Linked DNA regions of Homo sapiens: region 1 is linked to region 2. Evidence: promoter capture Hi-C in 16 types of primary human blood cells and fetal thymus (Javierre and others, 2016). All regions are on one chromosome and are shown on one strand. Each heading gives the region's core, a stretch centred on a gene start or on the middle of the fragment in contact. The rest is flanking DNA. Distances are from core to core; before and after follow the strand shown. Region 1 overlaps CCDC15 (coiled-coil domain containing 15). Region 2 holds the start of PKNOX2-AS1 (PKNOX2 antisense RNA 1).

What was found. The method cuts DNA at HindIII sites, captures the fragments that hold promoters and counts their contacts. A CHiCAGO score of 5 or more calls a contact.
Region 1: a fragment that was not itself captured here is called in contact with the fragment with the promoter of PKNOX2-AS1 in region 2 in 1 of 17 cell types (endothelial precursors); the score reaches 5.4 in endothelial precursors.

What each region holds. Positions count from the first base shown.
Region 1 is chr11:124,956,544-124,962,332 of GRCh38, forward strand. CCDC15 (coiled-coil domain containing 15) reads left to right here. Exons shown (of 16, transcript NM_025004.3): 3 at 2,572-2,721; 4 at 3,272-3,460. Among named protein-coding and RNA genes, the nearest start is that of CCDC15, 5.2 kb to the left of the region's middle. The HindIII fragment of the contact is 912 bases long and covers 1,716-2,627 here.
Region 2 is chr11:125,264,075-125,269,453 of GRCh38, forward strand. PKNOX2-AS1 (PKNOX2 antisense RNA 1) reads right to left here and starts at 2,724. Exons shown (of 2, transcript NR_187382.1): 1 at 2,566-2,724. All of the region lies in intron 2 of PKNOX2 (PBX/knotted 1 homeobox 2), which reads left to right. The HindIII fragment of the contact is 10,539 bases long and covers 1-4,590 here.

The sequences.
Region 1 (5,789 bases), core at 922-3,421, 310 kb before region 2:
CACCTCTTTGTAATTGCTCAAATTACATCTGTATAATATCAGTAGTGTCAACATGCCTAAAATTTGACACCATCAAACTTTTTCTATGTTAAGAAGTATTGACTATCGTATTCACACACATTAACTCAAAATATTAAAGTCTTGGAACATGGATAAACATATCTCCTTTTCCTGATTTAAAAATTTCTGATCAGTTCCAGCCAAAGGGAGTTTGATCAAGCATCTAATAGAACTCCTTATAGCTTTAGCATATCTAGTCTGGGTATCCACCCTTATTAACGGATATAGCTCTGTCAGCTCAAAATAAATGCTGAATAGTTACTTCTAAAGCTTGGCCCTTAGATCATGTCTGTTCTAAAGGGGAACTTCTACTCATTTTTCTCCCCAAAATTTCAGGGGGCCATCAGGATTCCTAAAAATGTCATAGCTTTAGACTACCTCCCCCCAATAATTATTAATAAATTAGCATCAAAAGACACTGCTGTTCTATCATCATATATGGGATTGCATTATTTTATAATTTGTTCTGGTTACCTTTTGCTGTGTAACCAACCACCCCAGAACTTAGTGGTATAAAGCAAATAATACTATGTAACAGGAATTTGAGCAGGGTACAGTGGTAATGGCTTGTTTCTGCCCCATAGTGTCTGGGACCTCAGCTGGGGCTCAAATAACTGGACATGTCTGAGACACCTTGACTATTTTCCGGCTATTGGCTGGAGCTAGACAATAGTCAAGTTCTCCCAGTAATGTGGCACCTGCTGGGCTGTAATGTCCAAGATGGCTTTCTTATTCACATATCTGACGCTTGGCCTAGGATGACTAGAATGTCTGGGTGCTGGTTAGATATGTTTCTCTTTTCACATGGCTTCTCTGTTTGACTAACTTGGGCTTCCTCACAGCATGGTAATCTCAGGGTAGTCTGAATTTTTATATGGTGCTGACTTCCTTCAGAATGAGCACTCTAAGAACAGAGGTGGAAGTTTCTTTATGACCTGGCTTGTAATCTTGTGGAGTAAAAGAGGAGCAGAGAAAATGGAGGTAAAAGAAAGAGGCCGAATGGCTTAAACTTGTCTGGGGCTTGAGTTAAGCTGGGTCAGTTGTTCAGGCTTCATTACGTATATATCTCTCCGTTGGAATTATTTTACCTAATTGTTCTTTGACACTTGTACACTCCACTAGAGTAGTTTATGGGATAGACATCTTGGAAATTTTAACTTAAATTGAAATTTGAATGCATTTGATTTTGAGAATTTAATGACAGCCTGTAAAATGATCTGAGGTACCCTTCAGAATTAGAAGTTGGAATCACTGAGTTAGAAGGAATAGGTACGAGATATGATGATGATTTTATTTAATTTGAAAATTCCTAGTGAAAGAGAGACATAGTCAAGAGAAAAGCAGTGTAGAGAGGAACATAATTGTTGGAGTCAGAAACTTCTAATTCTGCTACTAGTTAGCTATATTAAAATTACTTAATCTTTCTGAACTCCAGCTTCCTCATCTGTAACATAAGGGATAAGAATACCTACTGCCAAAGGTGGTTTTGAGGATAGAGTGCTACAAAGTAGTTAAAATACTTGTCACCTGATAGATCCATAATAATGATAAGTGCTGTTATGATGATGACTATGATTATTATTCAAAGCACTTAGAGGAGATAAATGCAGATCAAGAACTCAAATGGGATAAAGTGTTCCAGATTGTTCAGAACAAGCTTGTCCAACATGCGGCCATGGGCCACATGTGGCCCAGGATGGCTTTGAATGCGACCCAATGTAAATTAATAAATTTTCTTAATTAACACTATGAGTTTTTTTGTGATTTTTTTTTTTCTCATCAGCTACTAGTGTTAATGTATTTTATGTGACAGTTCTTCCAACATGGCCCAGGGAAGCCAAAATATTGGACACCCCTGGTTTAGAATATGTTTTGGAATTGAGCAATTATATAAATATATATTGACTACCCTTATAGTGAAGGCTCTGTACTAGATGCCGTAGGGGAAATAAAGGAGAATTGAATACATATCCTGTCCTCAAAGAGTTCATAATCTAGTAGGGGAGTCAAGAAGTACTATACTCAGTTAACATTGGTGAAATGAGAGGTGTTATAGCATAAGAGGGCTTAGAGAGAGAGTGTTGTGGAAGGTACTGGGGAGTGGGTATTAAATGGTTGTGAAAACTGAATAGGCCTTTACTAGGTGGAGATGAAAGGAAGGGCATGCCAGGTTAAAAATGGAGCATAATGCCAAATATGAAGACATTTTAACAATAGGACATATTTGGTGAGTGGTAAGTAACCTGGTGTGTCTTGACTATTTACTCCATTTTAGAAAATGTGTAACGTGTTAGGTTTTATTTGGTTCATTAAGATTTAATGAAGACATCGTTAGTTCTAATTCAATAAAAAATTTAAGATTTGATACTCATACATTCCATTTTTTTTTGTACAGAATGGAATTATTTTTTTCAGGATTGTATCCTTATCCTGACTGTTTTGTGTTTAAAACAGCCCTAATGGACAAAACTGCTAACATTTAAGTTCATTTTCTGTCTTTCATCTTTAAAGACATCAGCATATTTAATTGAAGAAGAACTAAAGGAACAGCTAAGAAAAAAACAAGAAGCTTTGAAACATTTTCAGAAACAAGTTAAATACCGAGTAAATCAACAAATTAGGTTGAGAAAAAAGCAACAGCTTCAGAAGTCTTATGAAAGAGTAAGTTCAAAAGTGAGCCTGAGTAAAGATTGAATGGAAAATATGTGTGTTATGAGATAAGCTATTAGGCAGTAACAGAATTGCTTTCCTTTGATTACATGCCTAATATAATCTAATTAACTAGTGAAGACAGTAAATTTTTTTTGTAGAGAAACCATGTTTTATTCCTGTGTTCTGACTCAATTTTTTGCTTTTACCAAGTAGTTAAAAGCAATGTCAGAATTTTGGGTTCAGACTTGAGTTTGAATTTTGGCTTTGCTACTTCTAGCTATTGACTTTTGGCTAATTACTTAACTTCACTGATTGTAGTTTCTTCATCCATAAAATAAGGATATGATACTTCTCTCATAGGATTGTGTGAGAGTTAGATGAGATAACCTAAATTATTAGCACATGGGAGGTGCCTGGTAAATGTTAGTTTCTCTGCCAGCTAAAGCCTCTCCCCTGCCCCCCACCCCAATTTAAAATCTTCTGAACTGCTTTAGAGGCATTATTTGATTGCTCTGGATTGGGGTAGAATGTTACTATCCCCCTTTCTTCTTTCGTGTAGGCACAAAAAGAAGGCTCCATAGCCATGCAGTCTTCAGCAACACACTTAACTTCCAAAAGGACAAGTGTTTTTCCAAACAATTTGAATGTTGCTATTGGAAGTTCTAGGTTACCTCCTTCCCTGATGCCTGGGGATGGAATAGAGGATGAAGAGAATCAGAACGAATTATTCCAACAACAAGCCCAGGCTGTAAGTACCTGTTCTTTTTATTTTATGTCTATGATATTTTCCCTATCCCCTAAACTATAAATATGACATCTAGGGTATGAGGTAGGGATTAAGAGTTATCACACTCAGCTTCACTTTTGATAATCATCCCCCTTTTTTTTTTTTTTTAGCTTTGTAAAGTGGGGAATAGTGGGATAATGCTTTTTAAAAATTTTAAATTTAAATTCATTTGTGTTTGGTAAGATACTCTAAAATTATCTAAAGAAAAGTGCCGCGGAGCCTGCAGTGAGCCGAGATTGCGCCACTGCACTCCAGCCTGGGCGACAGCGAGACTCCGTCTCAAAAAAAAAAAAAAAAAAAAAAAAAAAAAAGAAAAGTGCCAAAGTGCTAGAATTCAAAACCTATTAGAAAGCACTTTAGGTCAAGAACATGGATTTTCCAAGTTATATTGAAATTATATTCTAGGCAAGCTACTATTAGTTTGTAATTTACAGAGAGAAATAATTCTTACCTTCGTTGCAAAGAAGTTCAGTATACATAGGTGGCATTTCATTTATTATTTATCTTTGTCTCATTTTTCTTATTTTTGTTTTTTAATCTGATTATCACAATAAATGAATCTATAGTTGTAGGTTAAAGAATAATACATAGTAAATTCGTAACATATCCAGAGTTTTTGGAAAAATGTAATTTTTATTTAATGACTCATTTTATATACCTAATATTTAAAAATTAACCACTGTGAGTAGATTTCATCCATTCACATTGCTTGACTCTGTCCATTTAGCCCCCACCTTAGTATACCTGAGCTTTTGTCCAGTTGATACAGTCTTCAACTCTGCTTCAGTAATTGTTCTTCATCTTATTTAAAATGTATTACTAGAAATAATGAGAGGAAGAGAGAAAATATGGAAAATTATGAGTATGTGAAAATAAAAGCTGTATTACTGCTTAACATACTTGGTCAAAATTTAATTGTGCTATTAGTATAAATAGGAAAAGTTTAGAAGCACACATTATCATGTTGAACTACTATTAAAATTTTTTTCTTTGTCCACAACTATTTGACTCTTTCTTGTCATTGTTCAGTTTGTAATAATCATTTTTATTTGTTTAGCAAATATTTATTGAGCCAGGCACTGCATAAAGTACAAGGAATAGAACATTGACTTAAGACAGACACAGTCCTTGCTTTCGTGGTGCTTGTAGCTGTTAGTCCCACTGTAGTGAGGATTTTACTTCATCTGTTTAATACAAAAATAGAACTCATCAGTCAGCAGTATTTGCCTATGCTGTTTGTTATGGATTGTAGCGATACTAAGGAAATGTAAAATAGGACCTTCCATGGGTTTATATTTTCAGGTAGAAATACAAAACTAATAGACCACTCATTGTATCAGATAATAATATAGAGAGATTTTCTGTGTTTTGCAATAAAGTTGTGCTATGGGAGTTCAGAAATTTTTAAGGAAACAGTAGGGGAAGAATTCATGGGAGAGATAGACTTGAACTACACATTTTGTATTGGTAAATTCAAGAGAATTTGTTTTTCTTAGAGACGGAGTCTCACTCTGTTGCCCATGCTGTAGTGCAGTGGTGCAGTCCTGGCTCACTGCAACCTCCTCCTCCTGAGTTCAAGAGAATCTCCTGATTCTCCTGCCTCAGCCTCCTGAGTAGCTGGGGTAGGTGCCTGCCACCATGACTGGCTAATTTTTGTATTTTTAGTAGAGATGGGGTTTCACCATGTTGGCCAGGCTGGTATCAAATTCCTGAGCTCAAGGGATCCGCCTGCCTTGGCCTCCCAAAGTGCTGGGATTACAGGTGTGAGCCACCACACCTGGCCGAGATAATTTTTTCTTAAAAACCACCCAAACAAAAAAAAAGCCTAGAATCTCCAATGAGCCAGGTGTATTTGGGAATAAGTAATGGAACCTTTCTAATTGGTAGTTTATAATGGAGAATAACCAAAAATGGGGTTGGATAAGGAGGAGGAAATCAGGTTATGAAAAACCTTAAATGTCACAAGATTTTTTAAAGTTTTTATAATACCCCCACACTTTTTTTTTTAAAAGGACATGAACTACTGAAGAATGCTCAGTGACTTAACTATTTTGAGCCTGTAAACTTTGTCCATATGACTCCATGACAATAGATGCTTTCTGATCTTACCACTTCTGTTGCAGTTTTTATCCACTAGATGTCACCGTGAAACTAGACAATGAGACAGTTCAGGCACGAACTCCCTTAGTTTATCTAGAACTGGTTGGGTAAATGGTACACATAATTCACTTTCTGAATGTTAGTACACGTCTCAGTTTTCTCGTGTTGGTGTTATAGAAACATGTGATCT
Region 2 (5,379 bases), core at 1,474-3,973:
GTTAACTCCCTGAATCTGAGCAAGTTGGTGCCATCCCTGACACTGTTAGGAAAAGGGAATCCTTAGAGGTGAAGATCCATTATGGGAGCTACAAGGGACCTCCATCCATTTTCTGGATAAGGAACCGGGACCCAGTGGAAAATGGATTGTCTGGGGGCCAGGATGGGTAGAGGCAGAGGGCGGCTGCTTCCCAACCCCTCTCCTCTCCTGGGCTGAGCTCACCGTATGTCCCCAGGAAACTGGATGATGCTAGAGCTCCTTCCCCAGATCCCTTGGAATGCAGCTCAGGCTATGGTGGGCCTGGGGTCCTGGGGAGTTTGTCACTGGAAGGGATTTCATTTTCAGAAAGGAGCCACTTGCAAATTGGGAAACTGAGGTCAGGGATAGTGTCTCTTTAGGCCTAATAACTGCAGGACTGGACGTTAGGGCTGGGACTTGGCTTCCTGAGAGGTCACCTGGTGGTCCCTGCTAAGACCTGGGAGGCGTAGAGCATTCTCGGGTGGGGTGGCGGGGCCGGGGGGCTGCCCAGCTGTCTTGATCTTCTACTCTGTGAAATTATTCCTCACTTTCAAGGGGCCTAGTTCTCCCTTCCCCACCCCCCATTCCTTTTACCCCCATCCCCTGAAAAGGAGGAGACAGATGTCCTTTCTTCCACACATCACAGCTGCAGCCAGACACAATTTCTCTAAGCCCTGGGAACAGGTGTGGAGTAGTTCTAAGCCCCCTAGGGATGTGGGGGACTCGAGAAGGCGGCCGATTTTAGAAGCTGCACGGGTTCCCATCCTCCCCTGGCCCCATCTGTGAAATGGGAGGACTGCTCTAGGTAAGCACTTCCCAGAGTGGGCTCTGGGGGCGTAAAGAAAGTTCCAAAGCTAAGCCAGCTTGGGAAAGCCTGTGTGAACACCTTGTCTTAAAACAGTTACAGGGCTTATGGCCGGGCATGGTGGCTCAAGCCTGTAATCCCAGCACTCTGGGAGGCGAAGGCGGGCAGATCACGAGGTCAGAAGATTGAGACCATCCTGGCTAACACGGTGAAACCCCATCTCTACTAAAAATACAAAAATTAGCCAGGCGTGATGGTGGGCGCCTGTAGTCCCAGCTACTCGGAAGGCTGAGGCAGGAGATTGCCGTGAACCCAGGAAGTGGAGCTTGCAGTGGGCCGAGATCGCACCATTGTACTCCACCCTGAGCAACAGAGCGAGACTCTGTCTCAAAAAAAAAAAAAGTTACAGGGCTCATTACAAGTTTAAAGACTTTAACTTAGGGCTTCCTAAACATGTATGACCAAGGCAAGCTGATTTCCGATTCAATGAACAAACCTCCCTGGCAAACACCGGCCTCTGCAAGAGGTTCCAAGGCCCTTCTCTCTCCGAGGTTCCTCTTCAGCACCCAGGATGCTCACGCCAATTCCTGCCACACACCTGACCCACTCCTCCTTCAGTGGACGCATCCCTGACACTGTTCTCTGCCCCATGGCCTCTGCTGCCGCCTCACCCTGCTGGCTGCTCAGTTGTGCTTGGGTTTTCTCCATCCCAGACCTTCAGAGAGCCTGAACAGAGGCAGGGGCAGTGCGGGGCTGTCACCCGGGTTTCTGAGGGGTCTAAGCCCCTCAGCTCAGCCCCCACCCCAATGGTCCCCAGAGGGTTGCGGGTCATCTGTGGCTTTTCTGCTTCACAGGGTTGGGTAAGGGCTCTAGAGCAAGGAGAGAAGAAAATTCTGGCCACCAAGGATCTCATCAGGAGGATCCTGAAGGGGGGAGCTTAAAGAGGAATAGGCGTTCCTCTCCTCACCGTCTAAACTCTCAGAGTAGTCACACCTCACATTCCGCAACCCTCAAACTTCCCAAAGGCCCTGAGTGTGCATGACACCCGCCCATCAGGAGACAGCTGTGGTGTGGTGGAAAGCGTGTCAGCCATGGAGGAAACCTGGGCCCCCAGCTCCATAACTGGCCAGGTCTCTGCCCCGAGGCAGGTCACTTCACCCCTATGCACACTTACCAAATTTCTCAAAGAAAGGAATAGTTCCTTTCTCACTGGGTTCTCATCAGAGTTGAATGATATGATAAATGTGACAATGGCTGGCTTGGAAGAGTAGCTCAGAAAGCACGAGCAGAGAGGAATTCACCACCTCCTCCCCCGTCAGTGGTAAGATTTCTCTGATTTTAGGAGAGAGAAAACTGAGGCTCAGACAAGTTAAGTCACTTGCCCAAGGTCACACGGCCAGTCACCCCCAGTCCTTTGCCTTCCTGCTTTGCTTCATTTCCAAGAAGATGCCTCTGAGATGGGAGATGTTACACTGACTTTTGGGGGCATTTAGCCAGTGTGATGTCCTTGATTCTTGAACCTTTCATCCTCCCCACTAGTAAAATGCCTGCGAGACAGAGGCTGGAAGACAGCCCTGCTTTTCTGAAGGGGTGGGATTATGGATGTGTGGAGGCAGGAAGGGGGTATTAATTTTTGTGAAAATAACTTTTTAAAAATAAAAGTAGGCTTCTGCAGTAAGACAATCTCATTTCAGTTTGCAAAGAGCTCCTCCCAGTAAGAAGGGAGAACGTTTTCTCCTTACCTCCTCGTTCCTGGCCACGCAGACCCTCGATAGGCCCTGCCACCATGTCCCTCTCACTCTGCGTGTGCAGCCACAGGATGCTGAGCTGCTGTCCTTGAGCCCTTTCCTTACAGCAGCAAAACCAATCCACATGCAAGGTCTGGAGGTCAGGACGGGACTCACGGCTTCTTCCCTACTTCCCACCCAGGTTCTAAAGTCATTTTACTTAGCACAAGGAAATGAGGAAAGAACAGGGGGAAATGAGGAGAAAGAACAAGCATGCCTATCATGCGCTCCACGTTGTGCTAGGGCCTTAGGAATGTGCCTTCGGCAAGCACTATATCTCCCTTTTGATTTTTCTGTGGAAAAATCTCCCTTTTGATTTCTCTGAGACAGAGGCTGTTTAGAGGCCATGAGAGGGAGGGGTTTTGTCCTTGCTATCATTGTCTGTTTCCGTCACCAGCCAAAGCACGGACCCTGATCGGTATCTCCATTTGGCTAACTCACCTTCTCTTCTGCTATGTCCTTTCCTCCCTCCATCATTTGAAAATTTCACAACCTGTGAGGTTGGGAAGCATAGGTAGACGTTTGGTCAAGCTGGAACGACAGTTCTACCAAACTCCTCCCCTTGTGCTCATGTGTGTGTTCCCGTACCCACGTGGATCTAAGTCCTGTCCCGGGATAGTGCTCGTATCTGGAGTGAATGGAAGGGTCAGGAAGGATGTGCTTGTCCTGAAGGCTTGTAGAGGGAGGAGCTATCATGGCAGCCTCTCCTCCTGAGCTCATTCAGGTGTTCCCTCTGCCTGGCTGGGCCATCTCTTTCCTTGCCCTTTCAGTAAGAGGCTGTGGAATTATGTGAGGGAGAGGAAGAAGCTACTGCTTAGAGGGATTCTGCTCTCCAGGCCTTAAGCTGGGGTGCTTTCTAGCTCCGCTCTTCTCGTTTAAAGGGATGGCCTGACTCCAGCAGGTATCTGGAAGTAAAAACAACAAACAACCCCAAACATCTCCCAGCGCCAGACTGATAGCTCAGATTTCTACCACAGGTGAGATTTCCTGCTCATCTTTCTGATGGAGGAAGCCTGTGTGTGTGTGTATGCACGTGTGTGTGTGCATGTGTTGTGCATGTGTGCGCGTGTGTGTGTGCATGTGTGTGTGTGTGTTTTCTCTGCTGATTTATAGGCACTTTTTGGGTTGATAGATCTGTGAGGAAGAGTAGGAATGGAGTCAGGGAATTGTCTTCGATCAGAGGCCTGATGAGAACAAGGCGCTCATCAACACTGTTTAGGAAGGTGTTTTGTGCAGGAATTTGTGGCAAGTGATGGGAGGATGGTAGGGTGTGAGAAGAAGGGGGAAAATGCCACAGTATCTGACAACTTAAAACTCAGGGAGTCACAGAAATGTTGGGGCTTTGAGAAAACTTTGCCAACAACTCTCCTCTGAGGGTCTCTGGCCTGAGGTCACTGAGAATCTCAGGGAAAACAGGAGCAAGGACACAGCGGGCCCTCATGGGAGCAGATGCAGTCCTTTGGCCCACCTGCCCCTCCCTGCTCTCATCTCGGAAAACGTCGGCCCCCAACGCAGACAGGTCACTTGGAAACCAGGGAGTGGGGTTAAAAGCATCTCTCAACCCAATGTTCCCTTCCCCTTTCACATGCAGTATTTTGGGAACCGCGTGCTGTAGAAGCTGCATTGTAACAGTGGAAACATTTTAATTAAATGGGGAGACCTTAGGTCTGTCACATGACCTGGGTGTTCTCCTGTATAAAATGAAGGCTGATAACAGCTCCTTGACCGCTTCACAGGACTCTGGGGTCAAACGTGGCATGGGAAAGTGCTTTGTAAGGGAATTCAGATGTATAAGCTGTTCTTAGTAGGAGAGCAGTTTGCTCACCTGCTTAATGCTGGGGTTGGGGCAGGGCTGAAGCTGGGAGCTGGTGTTGGTGACTTCGGGAAGTTAGCTCTCCCTTGCTTCCAAGTCAATCAATGCTGGCTTTCAGTGATATTATTGAAAGCATATAAAGCTGGTCTGGTTGGCCTTAGAATAAAAGCTTCTGAAGGGCAGGGGGGCCTGGGGCTGTGTGGGACAGAAGTCTCTTGTTTCAAGAAGACATCAGTTCAGTGGTGGTATTCTGCCTGTGCCTGTGAGATCTGGGCTCGGACAAGCACTTTAAACCCACAAGTTGGCTGCATCATCTCTGAGAATTCCGTGACCCTTTCTGGGGTGGGGGCTGAGGAGGCCAGGAAATGGCTTTGGTCCCATTAGTCATTCTGGCGCCAGCAGCCCGACAGCAATGGCTTCTCATAGGGGAGTTGGGGGAGATGCCCATGGCGGGAGGGTGCCATGGGGGTGGGGTGGAGGGCAGGGGGGCTGCTGTTCTCATGCCCCTTTTTACCTAGATGCTGCCAAAGGTGGTCCCTGGAACAGTGACCACAAAGTGTCTCATGGGAGGAAGAAGGATGAAAGAGATGGGAATTCTTGTAAATTTTTAATCTGAAAAATAAAGAAAGTGTGAATTAGAATTAATGCAGGTATTAAATATTTAAACTTTCTGTACTCACTTTCATTTTTAACATATTCCTTCCTCAAAAACCTCGATAACGCTTGTCAGATTTGTTCTCAAGATGTCCCCCTCTCTCCACCTCCCCCTAGGCCCAGCCCCAAAGTGAGACCGCAGGTATTCATCATCCTGATGGAAATGCTCATTTTATTTCTCCTACAGGAACCATCTGATCTCTCTCTTTATATTTATGCTTTCTCTCTGTGGCAGTGTAAATAATTAATGCTGTTACAAACACATCCTATGCAAAATATATATTAGAAAAAATAACTCTTTA